Regions from separate parts of the Homo sapiens genome. Here region 1 is linked to region 2. The links are contacts of gene promoters, found by promoter capture Hi-C in human tissues and cell types (Jung and others, 2019). All regions are on one chromosome and are shown on one strand. Each heading gives the region's core, a stretch centred on a gene start or on the middle of the fragment in contact. The rest is flanking DNA. Distances are from core to core; before and after follow the strand shown. Region 1 overlaps GRM3 (glutamate metabotropic receptor 3). Region 2 holds the start of GRM3 (glutamate metabotropic receptor 3).

The links. Contacts are between HindIII fragments. The study calls those that stand out against the background at their distance.
Region 1: a fragment that was not itself captured here is called in contact with the fragment with the promoter of GRM3 in region 2 in 1 of the 25 tissues and cell types used here (liver).

What each region holds. Positions count from the first base shown.
Region 1 is chr7:86,684,674-86,687,448 of GRCh38, forward strand. The region is part of intron 1 of GRM3 (glutamate metabotropic receptor 3); the gene reads left to right. Among named protein-coding and RNA genes, the nearest start is that of GRM3, 42 kb to the left of the region's middle. RefSeq lists an enhancer at 888-967. The HindIII fragment of the contact is 5,408 bases long and covers 1-2,775 here.
Region 2 is chr7:86,642,650-86,645,372 of GRCh38, forward strand. It overlaps GRM3 (glutamate metabotropic receptor 3), which reads left to right and starts at 1,260. Exons shown (of 6, transcript NM_000840.3): 1 at 1,260-2,223. The HindIII fragment of the contact is 12,420 bases long and covers 1-2,723 here.

The DNA.
Region 1 (2,775 bases), core at 52-2,551, 42 kb after region 2:
TCTAGCTAGTGTTAAAATCGAAAATATGGTAACAGTGTTTAATCACAGAATCAAGGAATAATGACATCCTATTCTTCAAGAATTCAGGTTAATTAAGATTTCACTGAATATTAAATAAAGAGTCCAACAGCCGGATTTTAAATCTCATCTCTGCCACTTTCTAGCTTTGTGACCATGGGCAATTTATTAGACCTCCCTGTGCCTCAGTTTTCTCATCTGTTACATGTGGATAACAAGATGACCTATATCAGAGAGATGGTATGAGGATTAATTGTGTAAAGTACTTATAGTAACTGAGAAAAAGGAAGCATGCTATCCATGTTATCACTAATTACTTCCTATTTGTTTGTTCAGACTGTTACTTTTGTTTTCTTATAGATTGAAAATTGTTGCTAGGTTCAATTTCTCATTATTTAAAATATCTCAATATCCTCATATTTGCAGCATGACTTCCATCCTCAATTAATGAACTACAAAAAATGAAATAGAAAACAGTTAAAGATGTATTGAATTATCTGAAGTTTTTCAAGTACCAATTAAAGCACCAAAGACAGTTGGTATGGCATACATTGTTCCCTTAAAGGTATTCCTAAATAAAGCTTTGAGAACATAGTAAGTTTTGTTTTTTTTAAAACTGCTGTATCATATTACCAGTAAAACTTACAGATTGGTTTCTAACCAGAAACAAAATAAGTCTATGTAGACAAGGCATCATCGATTAGAAAAAACAGAAAAGCAAGCCCTGGTGTTCTTAGTGAGAACCTGAAACAAGCTCTGGCACCTGTGTGTGTGAGCAAGTGGGCTTTCTCTCTTGCTCAAGATAAAGGACATTCACTTTCGAAACAGCATGATGTCACCTTAGTGTCAGACAGATCTGGATAAGCAGCCAATGTGACCTGAACTAGTTCATTCTCCTTTCTCAGTTTCCTTATCTATAAAGGTATAAATGGGGGCCGGGCACGGTGGCTCACGCCTGTAATCCCAGCACTTTGGGAGGCCAAAGCAGGTGGATCACAAGATCAGGAGAAAGAGACCATCCTGGACAACAGGGTGAAACCCCTTCTCTACTAAAAATACAAAAAATTAGCCGGGCATGGTGGGGCGCACCTGTAGTCCAAGCTACTCACAAGGCTGAGGCAAGAGAATTGCTTGAACCAGGAGTCGGAGGCTGCAGTGAGCCGAGATCGCACCACTGCACTCTTAGCCTGGGCAACAGAGAAAGACTCTGTCTCCAAAAAAAAAAAAAAAAAAAATACTAATAACTACACCAAAGACCACTGTGGGAATTTAATGAGATAATACAATTAAATCCTTGAGCACCGTATCTGGCAAATAATGAATGCTTAATATATGTAGCTTAAAATAATAATTATCAGTTTAAATAATGAGCAAGATAGATTAGTTATGTCAGACTCTCACACTATAAACCATTAAACCCCTGGACAAAATATAAAAACTGAAATTGAAGTCTCTAAAGAACTATGAAAATAAGCAGCAAATTAAGCGGCTATGATCCTAAAGGAAGACATATGCTTTCAGTGGGTATTTCTCCATAGACACGCTCCAGTTTGGCATGGGAGAACAGAGCTCAATCAGAATGAAAGTCTCTTGCTTCACTGAAGAGACAAATATAAGAGTTTAGAGCTGCCAGAAAAGTGAGAAGGGGCAAAATTCAAGCAAGAAGGTAGCCCCAGATGAGGGAACCCTAAAACATGGTTCCAAAATTTTTCTTGTGTGATACACAGGGCAAAACTCCAAAAAAGGAAACAATATAAATCACCAGGGGGTTGCAAAGATATTTCAGAGACGTTTTTAAGGAAAAACAGTTTAGTATTTGAGTGCCTCAAAATTACAAAGGTTTGGTAAAAACTTCAAGCTTTGAGTTGAGAGTCTATAAAGCCTCACTCAAGTGTAAGGGCAAATATTATGTAATCAGCCCTAACAAAGACTAAAAGCAACCAACTAAAAGATCAAGATAAAGCATTACTGCTATAGCTGACAAAAAACAAAACAAAACAAAAACTTGATATTTAACTTGTCTATAATATGCACATTGATTCAAAACATACAAGGCTTGCTAAAAACAAGCTCATCAGCAAATAAAAGAAACGCAAAAAATAGAAACAGACACCTAGGTATTTTAGATATTAAAATTATAAAATATATTTTTAAATAGCAATGATTAATATATTCAAATGGATAGAGGAAAGAATGGAATTTCAGTGGAAACCTGAAATTCATAAATGCATCAAACTGAAATCCTGCAACTGAAAATATAAAAATTGAAATTAAGAATTTAGTAGATGGGTTTAATAACAGATTGGAAACATCAGAATAGATAATTTAGTGAACTAAAGACATGTCAATAAAAAGTGCTGTGATTAATCCCTATAAAAGAAAAAGTAGAAAATCTAGGAAAAAAGTCAGGGAAATATAGGATTCCATGAAAAGCTCTGATATACATGTAATCAGAGCACTAGAAAGAGAGAACATAGAATGCTAGAACATAAATGATTGAAAAATACTGGCCAGAAATTTTTCAAAATTGATGAAAAATGTCTGATTTTATAGACATAAGATCCAAAAAGCTGTCCAAACACAAAGCACAATAAAGGTGAATAAAACCACACTTAGGGACATTATGGTAACATTATTAAAAAACAAAGCAAAGAGCATTTAAAAAGTGCCTGGGGTGTAGCCAGGGTACATGTTATCTTCAGTTTAAGAAAAACTAATTTTGACTACCAATTCTTCAACAGAAAAATAGGGAAACAA
Region 2 (2,723 bases), core at 10-2,509:
ACATCAGCTCTCTTCTACTTCTCTCAATCCCAGCTAATTCTGATAAGGTCTTGGAAGCGCAAAATGATGTCTTCTGGAACGTTCTGAAAGAGACCAAAATCTACCCACACAGCTTCATGAGGATCTGAAGCCTTGCAGTGTATAAATCTTTATCTTTCTCATGTTCATGTCATTGCCCCTTGATATACAGTTGTCTATTGGGCAGACATTGTTAAAAGTAAATAAATTCTTAAAATTAAAATTAAATTCCTATAAAGATCTTTTTTTGGTGAACAATTCATGCTGGAAAATACTAATGAAACACAAAGGAAGAGGAATTTTGCTTGTACGTGGTCAATGCTATTGCATTCCAGAAAGAATACGTTGAAAGGGGGACTTCTAAAATTTTAGCATTTCACTATATAATAACACTTTATTTTTTAATATATTCAAATTTCTGGATCTAGTGGAGTTCACAATGAAATATATATATATATATATATATATATATATATATGCACATGTGTCTTTTAAATATTGCTGTCCCTCTAAAAGAATCAGTAGGTAAAATTATTTCTGTAGTTTAAAAGTTCTGGCTAGGTTACAAAAGACAGCAATTGTTAAACAACTTAACATTAAATATTAAAGACTAAATGTAGCATTTAAAGCATTAAGTTTAATTGTGTCTGGCTTCATATAATTCAGTCCTTGGTTAATACAAAGTTAGTATATTAGAGTACAAAAATTAATGAAGTTTCAATTTGGAAATTAAACAGTATGTGTTTCTAGACATAGAAAGATGCCTGGAATTTTACCTTTAGGATTTTATCTGTAGCTGGCAGCCTATTAAAGCTGTTTCCGCGTGCCTTTTTCTCTTTTGTGCCTACGTCACCGATTTAAGGTTCCTATTTATTTATTTATTTTTAAGAAGAAAGAAGAGGTTCTGTAGGAAACATTGACTGTATCCGACAACCATAGCAGGACTAGAGAAGGACCAATGAGGGGGTGCTGGGGGTAGCTTTAAGAGGCGAGGTGGTAGCAGAAAAGGATAAGAAGAAAGATAATTCAGCAGTCCCCTATAATCTTATTCCACCCAAGAAATTTGGGAGAATGCGAAAAAGCAGCAGCCCAGCATTCCCGGATGGGCGTGGCTTTTCTCCAGGGGCTGTCCAATTGAATTCCTTCAGAGGGAGAAGATTGATAAGGGTTGCTAGGAAACAGGAGCGTCTGCCTCCCGCCTGACCCAGAGATTGTTCTGCACAAACCCTCTCCAGGGGCTCGCAGTGTGCAGTTGAGTCGCGAGTACGGCTGAGCTGCGTACCGGCCTCCCTGGCTCTCACACTCCCTCTCTGCTCCCGCTCTCCTAATCTCCTCTGGCATGCGGTCAGCCCCCTGCCCAGGGACCACAGGAGAGTTCTTGTAAGGACTGTTAGTCCCTGCTTACCTGAAAGCCAAGCGCTCTAGCAGAGCTTTAAAGTTGGAGCCGCCACCCTCCCTACCGCCCCATGCCCCTTCACCCCACTCCGAAATTCACCGACCTTTGCATGCACTGCCTAAGGATTTCAGAGTGAGGCAAAGCAGTCGGCAAATCTACCCTGGCTTTTCGTATAAAAATCCTCTCGTCTAGGTACCCTGGCTCACTGAAGACTCTGCAGATATACCCTTATAAGAGGGAGGGTGGGGGAGGGAAAAGAACGAGAGAGGGAGGAAAGAATGAAAAGGAGAGGATGCCAGGAGGTCCGTGCTTCTGCCAAGAGTCCCAATTAGATGCGACGGCTTCAGCCTGGTCAAGGTGAAGGAAAGTTGCTTCCGCGCCTAGGAAGTGGGTTTGCCTGATAAGAGAAGGAGGAGGGGACTCGGCTGGGAAGAGCTCCCCTCCCCTCCGCGGAAGACCACTGGGTCCCCTCTTTCCCCAACCTCCTCCCTCTCTTCTACTCCACCCCTCCGTTTTCCCACTCCCCACTGACTCGGATGCCTGGATGTTCTGCCACCGGGCAGTGGTCCAGCGTGCAGCCGGGAGGGGGCAGGGGCAGGGGGCACTGTGACAGGAAGCTGCGCGCACAAGTTGGCCATTTCGAGGGCAAAATAAGTTCTCCCTTGGATTTGGAAAGGACAAAGCCAGTAAGCTACCTCTTTTGTGTCGGATGAGGAGGACCAACCATGAGCCAGAGCCCGGGTGCAGGCTCACCGCCGCCGCTGCCACCGCGGTCAGCTCCAGTTCCTGCCAGGAGTTGTCGGTGCGAGGTAAGGGTCCCAGAGGAGGACGTGTCCCTCTGGAGGGCGCCCAGCCAGGGCGCGGAAGCTCGGGTGCCGCGTGGGGCAGGCGCAGCCGGGAAAGTTGAGGTAGAGCATGGACCAGTCCCTACAGTCCTGACTGGAGTGGGAAGGGTGGAGGGCAGAGGCGATGTGGGTGTGCATGAGTGAGAGTTTGTGTGTGTGCGCCCACGTCTGTGTCTGGGAGGAGGGAGATTTCAGGGCATAGATCTGCGGCCAGGGTGCGAGAGGTGAAGGGACGAACTAGCACTCGCAGACCCCAGAGAGACCAGTCTCATCAGCCAACCACCTCCATCTCAGCTCTGGGCTCAGAATTTGTTTCTATTTGGGGGCTCCCTAAGGCTTTGTGCACAGGAATCCGTGGATACGGGCGGTTTCATGTGGGTGTGGAGGTTGCAGGCAGAGGTGGGCAACGGTCAGCGAGACCTGGTCCATGCAGCCCAGATAAGCTCCGAAGCCGGAGGCGGCCA